Regions from separate parts of the Homo sapiens genome. Here regions 2 and 3 are each linked to region 1. Evidence: promoter capture Hi-C in 16 types of primary human blood cells and fetal thymus (Javierre and others, 2016). All regions are on one chromosome and are shown on one strand. The core of a region is centred on a gene start or on the middle of the fragment in contact, and the rest is flanking DNA. Distances in the headings are between cores, read along the strand shown.

The links. The method cuts DNA at HindIII sites, captures the fragments that hold promoters and counts their contacts. A CHiCAGO score of 5 or more calls a contact.
Region 2: a fragment that was not itself captured here is called in contact with the fragment with the promoter of ATXN1L in region 1 in 2 of 17 cell types (naive CD4 T cells and total CD4 T cells); the score reaches 5.1 in naive CD4 T cells.
Region 3: a fragment that was not itself captured here is called in contact with the fragment with the promoter of ATXN1L in region 1 in 1 of 17 cell types (total CD4 T cells); the score reaches 5.4 in total CD4 T cells.

What each region holds. Positions count from the first base shown.
Region 1 is chr16:71,843,454-71,847,904 of GRCh38, reverse strand. It overlaps ATXN1L (ataxin 1 like), which reads right to left and starts at 1,929. Exons shown (of 3, transcript NM_001137675.4): 1 at 1,801-1,929. RefSeq lists enhancers at 1,442-1,511, 1,313-2,084, 2,302-2,351, 2,085-2,857 and a silencer at 1,732-2,041. The HindIII fragment of the contact is 5,556 bases long and covers 1,387-4,451 here.
Region 2 is chr16:71,466,177-71,470,627 of GRCh38, reverse strand. It overlaps LOC124903709 (a long non-coding RNA gene), which reads right to left. Exons shown (of 2, transcript XR_007065105.1): 2 at 1,913-4,451. Among named protein-coding and RNA genes, the nearest start is that of ZNF23, 6.2 kb to the right of the region's middle. The HindIII fragment of the contact is 518 bases long and covers 1,545-2,062 here.
Region 3 is chr16:71,554,684-71,559,134 of GRCh38, reverse strand. No RefSeq gene overlaps it. Among named protein-coding and RNA genes, the nearest start is that of TAT-AS1, 8.1 kb to the left of the region's middle. The HindIII fragment of the contact is 1,395 bases long and covers 1,272-2,666 here.

The DNA of each region.
Region 1 (4,451 bases), core at 680-3,179:
CCTCATCTTCTTCTCCACAGGTAAACAGTACATTTACCCAGAGTGCCCAGGCAGTTGAACAGAGAGAAAAACACCTCTAATGCTCCAACTTGTAAGAAGACATCCCTGAAAAAAAATTTCCATGTATCAAATTTCATTGGTTTTCCGTAACATCATTTCCCTAACATCTACCTGTGCCTGTTCCCCAAAGGTTAAATTTGCTCCAATCCAAATTTCAGATAAACGCACAAATAAAAATGGAAGCTTTAACACTGTTCCCATATGAACAATGGGAAGCAGGAAAAATCAACTCTATGGATTTCCCCTTTATTCTGGGCCTATGAAAACATAAATGTGGAGTTATTTAAATGAAAAAAAGCAGCAGTAGATGAAAAAGAACAATTATTTATGTTTCTGGGGCAGAAAAAGAGGTCAGGGGGGAGTCACTCAAGGAGAAGACTTATTAAGAGATTTTCAGGGTTAAAAAAAAATGAGCATATGTGTGTGTGTATGTAAAATTTTCTGAGTGACAGTATACCAAGTGCTGAATCAGGTATGAAAGAAACTGAAAATATTGCCTTGGTCCTCAGCTGGCTAACACTGGTGAAACAAAACTACCACTAAACCATCACTATGTGAATCTACACTTGCCAGAAACGCAAAGCGAGAAAGAATGGAGCCTTAACCTCTGAAAACAGAGAAGGCAGTACAGATGAGTGAGTGCTCTGAGAAACTGACTATCCTGTCCAAGTCCTATAGAACACTCTAAGCCTCAACCCAAACCGAATGCAACATTTCTCTCTTAAGATTGGCAAGGTGCAGGTGTACACAAAAGGTGGAAGGATAGGAAAACACAGTGGGAAAACAAATTCCTAATTCCACAAACACATATTATTACACAGTGGCATAAATAATGACTCTTTTCTCCACCAGCAGCTTTAATAACTGAAAAGCAGCTTGCTTTCTTCTTCATTCCCAACAGAAACTGGGGTCACACTTCAATCCCAAAATGATCCTTGCTTTCTGTAACGAAAACTTTAAAGAAAACCTGCCTCCAGGTCACCGAGAAGTTAGCAAACACAGGCTAGTAAAGGGACCGAAAGAGGCAAAAGGTCTGCAGAAAGGAAAACAAAGAGCCAAGCCTGTGCGCCAGGTTCCCACAACGCAAAACACACTTAAGAATCCGAAACCTCCGCCTCTCGAGAACCTCACTGAGCATCTCAAAGGGAAAACGCAGCTTGTGACCCCAACCGAGCTAACAGGCTGTTCAGGAGAGTTGCCAACGCTGCTAGCAGAGCCCGGAACCAAGCTCCTCATCACGCTTGGGTCGGAATCAAGGGGCTGAACCCAGCTGGAGACCCAAATTCTCTGCGGGCGAGAGGTGCGCCCGACAGAAAGGGAGAAGCTTGTCAGAGACTACGGTTATGGCTCCCAGTGGTCCCGCAATCCTTGATCCAACAAGGGTAGGGCTCGAAATTGGGAATTCTGCGTTTAGAGAGTAGGGGGTCCACCCTTCACCAAGGGGGCAGGGGCGAGGCCCTGCAGGCGACGCTTCCTTGTTTGGGGGCCCTTCCCGCCCCACAGACTCGGACACCTTGGCTCGCAGGCACACAGCCTCCGGGGCGCCGGGGCCTGAGGCCACCTTCCAGGACAGGCCAGAGAGAAGCGCGAGGGGGTCTAGGTGCGGCCTCTCCCCTCCGTCTGTCCACGGTTCATGGGCCCCGGCCCGCCGGAGCAACGGGCTCCTGAGGGCCACTTCCTCCGGAGCACCGACCCCAGGCCTGCCTGGCCCCGGCGGCCACCACTTCCAGGGACACTCACCAGCCCATTTCACAGCGCTTCCCAGGATCCACTCACTCGTCCCGGAGCCGCCGCAACCGCGGCCGCCGCCATCCCCGGCCCCGGAGCCGCCCCACACCCAGCGCCCCCCACAGCCGGGCGCCCGGAGATGGCGTCAAGCTCGTCCCGCCCCCGGCGCGGAGAGATTGCGTCACGGCCGGGGTGGGAGAGCAACGCCCAGGACTCCCCGGGAAGGGAGGGTGCCACACTGCCTTCGCGTCGGGCGTTCCCTCTGGTGGGTGAACAAACTCCTCTCCCTGGGACCGGGTCACGTGAATAGGGCTGGGCCCGGCCCCCTCAGCCTGACCCCACAATGACCCCGCAATCTTTCCACCTCAGTAAATTTTGGGGGTTCCCAAACAGAGCCCCGGGGCGTGGTCATCGGCGACCCCCCATTTCCTGGACTTCTTGTCCTGACTTGTGCAGCCCCTTCTGGGGAACTTCGGGGGACCCCGAGGTGACCTAGGCTCAGGAGAAAAGGAGATACCTCTTACCTCTTGGGGACCCAGGTGGAGATAGGAAGTCTTCTTTTTTTCTTTTCTTTCTTTTTTTTGGAGACAGTTTCGCTCTTGTTGCCCAGGCTAGAGTGCAATGGCACGATCTCGGCTCACCCAACCTCCGCCTGCCAGGTTCAAGCAATTCTCCTATCTCAGCCTCCCGAGTAGCTGGGATTACAGGCATGCGCCACCACACCTGGCTAATTTTTTGTATTTTTAGTAGAGACAGGGTTTCTCCTTGCTGGTCAGGCTGGTCTCGAACTCCCGACCTCAGGTGATCCCCACACCTCGGCCTGCCAAAGTGCTGGGATTACAGGCGTGAGCCACCGTGCCAGGTCAATAGGAGCTCTGTAAGTGTTGAGAAGTGGCCCCCGAGGGAGCTAAGAGTGAACCCCACTCAGGATCTAGGGGAAGGTGACAAGGAGTGGAACACCTGAAAGTTTAGAGAGAGCCCGGGGTTTAGTACAGTGAGAAGCAGCTTGGTTTAGTGGAAAGAGGGCTTGACTACTCAGTGAAATATTATTCATTACAAATTAACTAATTATTCATTACAAATTAACTGGTCAACTTCATAGTAACATGAACATCTGATTAACTTAAGTGAAGACAAAAGTGAGCGCCAGTTGAATTTATGTTTGAATAACAACTGTGTTTTTGTTGTTGTTTGTTTTAAAGTATTAGGTTGGTGCAAAAGTAATTGCGGTTTTGGCCACCGAAATGGAGACTTTCAGTTTCTTCAAACTCTGTTCAATAAATAACAATTGGGCCAGGCGCGGTGGCTCACGCCTGCAATCCCAGCACTTTGGGAGGCCAAGGCCGGCGGATCACGAGGTCAGGAGATCGCAGACCATCCTGGCTAACACGGCGAAACCCCGTCTCTACTAAAAATACAGAAAATTAGCCGGGCATGGTGGCGGGCACCTGTACTCCCAGCTACTCGGGAGGCTGAAGCAGGAGAATGGCATGAACCCGGGAGGCAGAGCTTGCAGTGAGCCGAGATCGTGCCACTGCACTCCAGCCTGGGCAATAGAGTGAGACTCCGTCTTAAAAAAAAAAAAAGAAAAAAAAAGATATGTCATTGCAGTTGCGTGTATGTGTGTGTGTGTGTGTACATATAATTTTTTTTTTTTTTTAGCCCTGTCGCCCAGGTTAGAGTGCAGTGGTGCCATCTTAGCTCACTGCAGCCTCAAATTCCTGTGCTCAAGCAGTCCTCCCACCTCAGCCTCTGGGGTAGGTGCGATGATAGGCATGCACTACCATGCCCAGCTAATTTTTTAAAATTTCTTGCAGAGACAAGGTCTTGCTATGTTGCCCAGGCTGGTCTTAGACTCCTGTGCTCAAGTGATCTTCCCTCCTCGGCCTCCCAAAGTGCTGACATTTCAGTCATGAGCCAACCACACCCAGCGTCGGTTGTATGTATTTCTGTGTATCTGTACAGAAAAGGAGTAGAACACATAACTAATTAACATTGGTTATTTTTGGGAAGGAAAGTGGAATTGGGTGGTGGTCAAAAGGCAAAGAAACAACTTATATTATTGTTTGAATATTTAGGAGAATATTATCTTAGAAATAAAAAAAGTAAGTTGAGATCCAGATACAATGCATGATCTCTAAGATTCTTTCTAGGGAAGCCTTAGATCTCAATTATATTTTCTCACCTGGATGGACACATAGGGCCATAAAAAATTATCAAGTACCACACAGACACACACACAGACACACACACACACGCACACATACACACAGCACAAATGGGAAAAAACATAGTGAAGTTACTGCTGTCATCTAAATCATCTGAGTGTTTTGCTTCATTAATATTAATATTGTTCATGACAGTCTCCTTCTCTCTCAGTTTGGCCAAGAAGGAAGTCCTGTGGTCACTCAGTGTGTCCGTTTTAGCACTAACTAGCATTCTGGTTTCTAGTTCATTTCTTAGCTCACTAAACTGGCATTAAAATAGTCAAGATAGGAACCCTTGGACTATCCAAGCATATTCAAGGATAGCTAGTTTCTCCCAGATCAAGATATACACTCAGAGCTGGGTTTTCTGTACAAATTTGAAAGAGTAGACACAGGTAGATGTAAGCAAAAAAAAAGTTTTATGGCTACCAACCATTAACATAATGATGTACATGA
Region 2 (4,451 bases), core at 554-3,053, 380 kb after region 1:
TTCGTGTGTCACTGAAGTGCCTAATTTTAGATAGACTAAGTTGTTTATATAACTGTAGCTATGTGTGGCCAGGAGGTAAAACATGGTAAATATCACGGTTATCAGCCTGTAAGGAGGACCTGGCAATGCATGTCCCTCAGATTATCAACTAAAACAAGCACTTGGAGCCATGCAAATAAAAGAATCCTTAGAAGTATGCCACATACAATAAATGATTTTATTAATTACTCAACTTTTTTTTTGACACAGGGTCTTGCTCTACCACCCAGGCTGGAGTGCAGTGGCACGATCATGGCTCACTGCAGACTTGCCCTCCCAGGCTCAAGTGATCCTCGTACCTCAGCCTCCCTAGTAGTTGGGACTACAGGCATGCGCCACCACACCCAGTTTATATATATATATAAATTTTTTTTTTGAGATGGAGTCTCGCTCTGTTGCCCAGGCTGGAGTGCAGTGGCATGATCTCGGCTCACTGCAACCTCTGCCTCGTGGGTTCAAGCGACTCTTCTGCCTTAGCCTCCTGAGTAGCTGGGACTACAGGCAAGCGCCACCACGCCTGGCTAATTTTTGTATTTTTAGTAGAGATGGGGTTTCACCATATTGGCCAGGCTGGTCTCGAACTCCTGACCTTGTGATCTGCCCACCTCAGCCTCTCAAAGTACTGGGATTACAGGTGTGAGCCATTGTGCCCATCAATTTATGTATATTTTGTAGAGACAAGGTTTCACTATGTTGCCCAGGCTGGTCTAGAACTCCTGAGGCCAAGCAATCCTCCCACCTTGGTCTCCCAAAGTGCCGGAATCACAGACATGGGTCACTGTGCCTGGCAATAAATATTTATTTAGTGACTTCTGTGTGCTAAGCAACATGCTAGATGATAGCACATGATGACAGAACATGTTACTGATGAGCAACATGGAGCTTCTCTCCAGTTCCTGGTGCTACTGCCTTGTTCTGAGCCACCAACATTTCTTTCCTAGACTACCACAATTGCTCCTTAAGTAGTCTCCCCACTTCTGCTCTTGAATCCTTCTAATCTATCTGCCAGTCAGCAGCCAGGTGTGCTTTTAAAAATATGGAACATAACATGCTTTTCTTAAAACATTTCAATGGGTTTCCATTGACCTTGGAATAAAATCCAAACTCTTTAACATGGCCTGCAAAGCTCTAATGACTTCATGGCGCAGCACTTCCTCCCTCCTCTCTCCCCATGATGTGTCAAGCTTTTTTTTTTTTTTTTTTTCCACTGAAGGGCCTACACATGCTATTCCTCCTGCCTGGAATGCTGTCTCCTTGATTATGTGCCCAGATAGTTCATTCTTATCTTTCAGGTCTCAGCCCAAGATCAAGATCACTTCCTCAGGCCTTTCCTTACCTCCAAGTTAAAATGGTATTCCCTTGATATTATCTCCTAAACACCTTGCTCTTTACCTCCCTCACACGAATGAAAGTTTACAATAATATATTTATCCAGGTGTGGATTTACTTAAAAGTTGTGTCCCCCACTACAGTCTATGTTCTACAAAGACTGTAACATGTAAGCTTTGTTTTTCTTCATCTATAAAATAGATATAATACCTACTGGATCTTCTTCAGTATGGATGTGAAGAAAGCATTACATAATAAACATAAATGTGTCTAATAGTTAATGAAGTGCAATTCAGATTAAAGATGTCTTTGGGCCAGGCATCATGGCACATGTCTATAATCCTAGCACTTTGGGAGACTAAAATGGTTGGATCCCTTGAGGCCAGGAGTTCCAAACCAGCCAACGCAGCATAGCGAGACCCCATCTCTACAAAAAAGAGAAAAGAAAGAAAAATGTTTTCATGGCTCAGAACACCTGAATGCAAGGTAACTCACCAGGAAAGGAGTGTAAGTTAGTTGAATAAAGCAATTGGAACACACGAAGTTTCAGGTTTTATTACATTTTTATTATGTTCAAATAGTGTTGAGGTAATTTATTGTTAACAACAAGAACAATACATAGCTTCCTTGTCTTTTAAATCTTTCAAATACAAATAATTCATGTTAACAAAAATTTATATGATGTAAGAAAGCTTCCCAGAAGAGCCTCTCTTAGCCATTTGGGCCCACAATAAATTATCATCCTTGGAATCTCTGGATTTTGAGGCAGAGTGATAGAGAAGACAAGTAGGAACTGGGGCACTGGGTGATACGTGTCAGGTTCTGACCAAATGAATTCAAAGAAAGGAATAGGGTGAGATTAAGTATTTGGATATCAGGCTTAAAATATAGCCAGAGGGAGGCTGGGCATGGTGGCTAATGCCTGTAATCTCAGCACTTTGGGAGGCCAAGGCAGGTGGATCACCTGAGGTCAGGAGTTCGAGACCAGCCTGGTCGATATGGTGAAACCCCATCTCTACTAAATATACAAAAATCAGCCAGGTGTAGTGGTGGGCGCCTGTAATCCCAGTTACTCGGGAGGCTGAGGCCAGAGAATCGCTTGAACCCGGGAGGTGGAGGTTGCAGTGAACTGAGATCGTGCCACTGCACTCCAGACTGGGTGACAAGAGTGAGACTCCTCAAAAACACACACACATATATAGTCAGAGGGGACCAACACACCAGGTTGGAGGACAATGGTTCTGAGGCCAGCCCCAGAACCTTGGAGAGCGCCACAGACACACCCCCCCCCCCCCCCCCACTGAGTCGGAGCTAGCACCTTGGACAGCACCACGGCTTCTCTGTTTTCTACTGCTGTCCTTTGTACCTGGATGACACTAAACACAGGTTGTAGTGGTCACTGTTAATTTCTTGGGGCTTTCCACTCCGGTGTACCTGGCAATTGTAATCCTCTAAAATCAGCAGTCTTTTACAAGGTTCTTTATGACACGGTGGGGGTTGAGATTCTTTCTCTTCCTTCTAGAAACTTCAGCATCAGAGCTGATAATTGGACCGATTCCCTTGGGAGGTCTATGGGATTGGTACCTAGTATCATTGTGTTATGCCAGAGGCCAACGTCCTTCAAGTTAGGGGAAAATGTGTAATACCTGGTCATACTATGTAAGGAAGAATGCTCAGGGCTCTTCCTAGGCACATATAAGCAAATTATCAGGCAATACATGTGAGAAAGAAGGTATGTTGTATTCATTTGGAGACAGGCTGCTTGATTCTTTTTCATGCCCTCTCCTCACGTGCTAACCCCCACCTGTTAACCTATTTTCAGAAACATACAATGGATTGGATCTGCTTTCTCTGTGGTAAAAATCTTCCGAACTTGATTGTTGTTAGCATGTTTCTGTGAGGTTATGCACAAAAAACTTTGAAGGAGTTTGGCACTGTAGGTCTTTCTCCTACTTATAATATGTCATATTTACAAACTTATGCATTACTAACTTCATTACTGACAAATAAAAAAGTGTAATCAGGTCCACAAATAATTTAGAGGAGGGGAAAAGTTAACATTAATTGAGCAACTACTGAATCCTGGTCCCTGTTGTATGTACTTTAAGCAAAACATTATGTGTAGTATTTACAACAACTGTGAACTATTATCTCATTTTTCAGATGAATCATTGGAATTTCAGAAAAGCTAAGTGGTTGTCCAAGGTCTCATAGCTAGTAGGTGAAGAAATCAGGACTTCTCAGTCCTGTACATTTATTTTTAATTTTCTTTTCTCTGTGTTTGTTTTTGAATAGTTTCTGTTGCTATGTCTTCAAATTCACTCATCTTTTTTCTGTAATGTCTAATCTGCCGTTAATCCCATCCAATGTATTTTTATTGCACATTATAGGTTTTTATCTTTAGAAGTTTGATTTGGGTCTTTTTTATATGTTTCATTTCTCCACCAAACTTTTAGATGTATCAGATATGGTTGTAATAACTTTTAAATGTCATTGCCTACTAATTCTGTTGTGACTATTTCAGAAGTCTATCAGGATTAGTTTTTAATGTAATTTCTTGGATTATGAATTACTGGTCCAAGTAGATAGTATTAATTTAAACTCTATACTTAATGATGCAAACTATGATTATAAATTTTTAGAAGACATTTCTACTACCACTTCAAAGCTTAGGCAAGGACCATAAGATTCTTTGTTATCTCTCTTTGTTCATGAGATTTTTAAAAAATTTATCCTTTCATGATTGGATGAGTGTATGTGTGTGAGAAAAGTCTCTGTTCCTATTCCTTGTTCCTGTAATATGCCTCCTGCATATTATAATTCTGCTTTCTCAGATATCAAGACTTACAACTCTTCACCATTCCCACCCCTGTTGGCCAAAGCATCAGCTGAGGTCCTCAGTCCAAACCAATGCCTCTGGTTTTAGTTTCTTGTTTGGTTTTGGTACGTGGGTACACTTTCCTGTGAGTTAAGTATTTAAAATGATGTCGAATATTATATCTTATTCTAAATTTCTAGATTCTAGTTTATATTATTTGCTACATTGCCCTCAACTGAATTCTGCGTAATATTTATTGTCTTAA
Region 3 (4,451 bases), core at 720-3,219, 290 kb after region 1:
ACAAGCAGATCTTGGGAGAACTCTATCACAAGAACAGCAAGGGGGAAGTCCACCTCCATGATTTAATCACCTCTCACCAGGCCTGTCCTTCAACACTGGGAATTACAATTCGACATGAGATTTGGGTGAGGACACAGAGCCAAATCATATTACTCATAGAGACAGAAAATAGATTAGTTACTTCTAGAGCTAGAGGTGAGGCCATATGTGGGAGATGGAGAGAGATGGCTAATGGGTACAGAGTTTCTTTTTGGAGTGATGAATATATTCTAAAATTGATAATGGTGATGGTTACACAACTTTAAAGAAAGTAAAAACCATTGAATTGTACAATTTAAGTGGGTTGAGTTGTGTGGTATGTAGATCATGTCTCAGTAATACTGTTTTTTTTGTGTGAGTGGAAAAAAAGATATAAAGGAGTCAGACTTTAGGGAGATCAACTCAAATATCTGTGTGGCATTTAAAGGATTTTTAGGTTTTTAAAGAAAAGAAAAAGCATGTAAGATTGCCAGTTTGTAGCTATCTGTTCATGGTGGAAAACAGTAACTTTTTCTCATGTTCATCCTAGTCACAAACATTGTGATGTTACTTCAGACATAATCATTCTAAAAGGCAGAGATAACTTCAGTTTTTTAAAGATAAGGAGTGCACACTTGCAGGAATTAGTTTGGGGACTAGAACTAGATGGGGTGACCTCATCATTGTTGTTTCATTTAAGGGTACAAAGTGCTTATTTTTCCTGACTCTGGTATTTCATAATGGAAGCAGGGCAAAGTGTCAGTTGGGCTTCCACACTGGGAGCAATAAGAAATTTCTAGAAAAACATCTGAGATGTTTCTGTAAATAGCAGAATTAGCATGTGTGATAAACTAGTGGTTTTTACACTTTTTCGTTCATGTGTTCCCTAAAATAATTTAGAATTCTTGACTGAAAATTCAAACATATATAAAAGTAGAAGCAGTAGTATAATTAGCACCAATATACCCATCACTCAGATTTAATGACTCTCAAGATATTGCCATTTTTGTTCCTTCCTTCTTTTTCTTGTTTTCTTTGCCAAAAGATTGTAAAGCAAATCCTGGACATCGTTAGTTCTCCCCATACGCCTCAGTACACATCTCTAAACACATAATTTCTTAACCACAGTGCCACATCACATCAAATAGTAAGATATTTTTGGTTGCCTCCAAAATGTCTTCTTATAGTTGGTTTATTTGGATCAGGATTCAAACAAAGTTTAAACATTACTTTTTAGTTTTATGTCTTAAGCTTAAATATCTCTTACTCTAGAGAAGGCTCCTGTTTTTTTTTTTTTCTTTTCATACCATTGACTTGTTGCAGGAATGGCTGTCTTACAAAATGTTCTACATTCTGGATATGTTTGTTGGCTTCCTTGTGGTGTCATTTAACTTGTTCATTTAACTAGAGCATGCATTTTTCAACAGAGATGATATTGGATATTTACTAGAAATTTACCTTCTTTTTTTTGTTGTTGAAACAGGATCTTGCTCTGTTGCCCAGACTGGAGTGCAATGACATGATTACAATCATAGCTCGCTGCAGCCTTGACCTCCTAGACTCAAGTAATCTTTCCACCTCAGCCTTCTGAGTGGCTCGGACCATAGTTACATGCCAACATGCCTGCCTAATTTGTGTATTTTTTGCAGAGATGGGGTCTCACTATGCTGCCCAGGCTGGTCTCCTGGGCTCAAATGATCCTTCTGCTTTGGCCTCCCAAAGTGCCAGGATGATTTTCTTTCTTCATCTTGTATTTCTGTTTTATGTTTTACCCCAGTTTTATGTTAACGTTATCCTTATCTTTGAAAGTATTTTATTGATCATACTTCTTTGCCACAAAAATACTGACTGATATGGCAGGTTGCTAGAGGTTCCCCAATGACTTTCTCTCCTTGTAGTATTAAAACTGCTGATGGGGCTGGGCGTGGTGGCTCACGCCTGTAATCCCAGCACTTTGGGAGGCCAGGGGGGCAGATCACCTGAGGTCAGGAGTTCAAGACCAGCCTGGCCAACATGGTGAAATCCCATCTCTACTAAAAATACAAAAATTAGCCAGGTGTGGTGGCAGGCACCTGTAATCCCAGATACTGGGGAGGCTGAGGCAGGAGAATCGCTTGAACCTTGGAGGCGGAGGTTGCAGTGAGCCGAGATCGCACCATCACACTCCAGCCTGGGGGACGAGAGCAAGACTTTATCTCAAAAAACAAACAAATAAACAAAACAAAACAACGACAACAAACTGCTGATGGAATGGATCAGGATCACTTTTCAGTGAATTTCTCAACTTTGGGGTTTCCAGACCATACAGGTAGGTTACATTTGAACACTAAACCCATGTAAAGGAATGCCTATGCTTACAAACTGTCATGGGAGAGTTTTCTTTTTTCTTCCCAGGGGCCAGAATAAGAAAGATTTCTTTATAATCCATCTTGTTACTCAGCCTTAACATTTGGAAGGGCTTGGCTTTGTGGAGAGGTCTAAATTTTAAATCCCTGCCTTACATGGGTCTAAGTCCTCCTCCACTAGTGTTAAACTCTAAACCCATGATTACTGAGATGTTACCAGCATAAGCATACTCTTATTTTCCAAATTTTCAGGCCCCTCTTTGTTTTTGCTTCTTTGGGGATTCTGTTACTCTCTTGCAAGCTTGGCTCTGAATTTGAAAATACGTTTGTTAGATTTTATCCATCATATCTAGATGTTTTGAAGCCCAAACATTTTCATATGATCTTTCTTGTGATGTTGCTTTGGAAGTCTCCATACTTCTCTTACATCTCTCCATCCTGATGTTTCCTCCTTCCGTTCTCCCCCTGCCCAAAATCTTTGTTCCATAGCAGGTACAATTATCTGCCATCATCAAACTGGTTACTTCTTTGCCTTAACTGTAACTTCGCTCTTCCCCTAAAGTCACTGTTTGTTCTTTTTTTTTTGAGACAGAGTCTCGCTCTCTTGCCAGGCTGGAGTGCAATGGCACCATCTCAGCTCAGGGCAACCTCTGCTTCCCAGGTTCAAGCAATTCTCCTGCGTCAGCCTCCCGAGCAGCTGGGATTACAGGTGCGTGCCACCACACCCAGCTAATTTTTGTATTTTTAGTAGAGACAGGGTTTCACCATGTTGGCCAGGATGGTCTCGATCTCCTGACCTCATGATCTGCCTGCCTTGGCCTCCCAAAGTGCTGGGATTACAGGCGTGAGTCACTGCACCCGGCCAACTCACTGTTTGAAATAGCTTTTTTTCCCACATAGCCCAGACTCTAACTTATTGTCTTTTTTCATATCTATACTCCCCCAGACTCACACAATAACCAGCTTCCTTTAAAACATGTGCTGAATTACTTTATATCCTTTCTGTGCACACTCCCTTATTTATTTAGGGCCTGATACATGGGAAATTTCAACACTTGGGAAATTTCAACATCTCTGTGGATAGCCTCACCCACACTCTAACCTCAAGGCCTCTTGCTTATTCCAAACATGAGGAGCTGTACAATCTACCCCACAATGGCCCCACTCCCAAAGCCACACCTGTGTTCCTTGTCATCACTTGAACTAGACTATTTTAGGATTATTAATCCCTAACATGTAATTTACTAACTGCAAGCTGCTCACCCTCCAACTGGCTCACAATCTGACACCTGGACATTTTACAGCCCTTTAATCTCTTCAAACATTTCCCAAGTCCATTAACTCCCTTGCATTGTTACACTTCTTTTTTGCCTCATGGTGCTGTACTCTGCCCACATTCCTGCCAGCGACCTCAACTTCTTAGCTTCCTTATTCCACAGCATCTACTGTGCACAGCCTCTACCTGGGATTAATCTGATCCTGAACCTTCTCAATTTCTATACTTAAAGTAAAAATAAAGGTAAATGGGTGCCACTGGTACACGGTCTCTGGCCTCGCTAGGGCCTCAGCACTGTTTTGGCAATCCCTTTACAAACACTGGACCAGTGCTTCCTTGAGTTGAAGATGGCAGGCCCATAGAATGAGAGGAGCCGGGTGCTTCAATTACTGCTCCGAGAAGAGCTATTTACTGACCATGTTGGTCTTCATTTGAGCAAGAAAACACTTCAATTGTGTTTGAGCCATCAAGCTTTTGGTATCTGTTTGTTGTAACAATTACCATTACTTTAACAAATACAATGAGATACCATTTTAAAATTTTAATTTTCATCAGCAATAAGAGAAAATGTTATTTTATTTATTTATTTTTTTGAGATGGAGTTTCGCTCTTGTTTCCCAGGCTGGAGTGCAATGGCGCAATCTCGGCTCCCCGCAACCTCCGCCTCCCGGGTTCAAGTGATTCTTCTGCCTCAGCCTCCCGAGTAGCTGGGATTACAGGCATGTGTCACCACGCCTGGCTAATTTCGTATTTTTAGTAGAGAGGGGGTTTCACCATGTTGGTCGGGCTGGTCTCAAACTCTGGACCTCAGG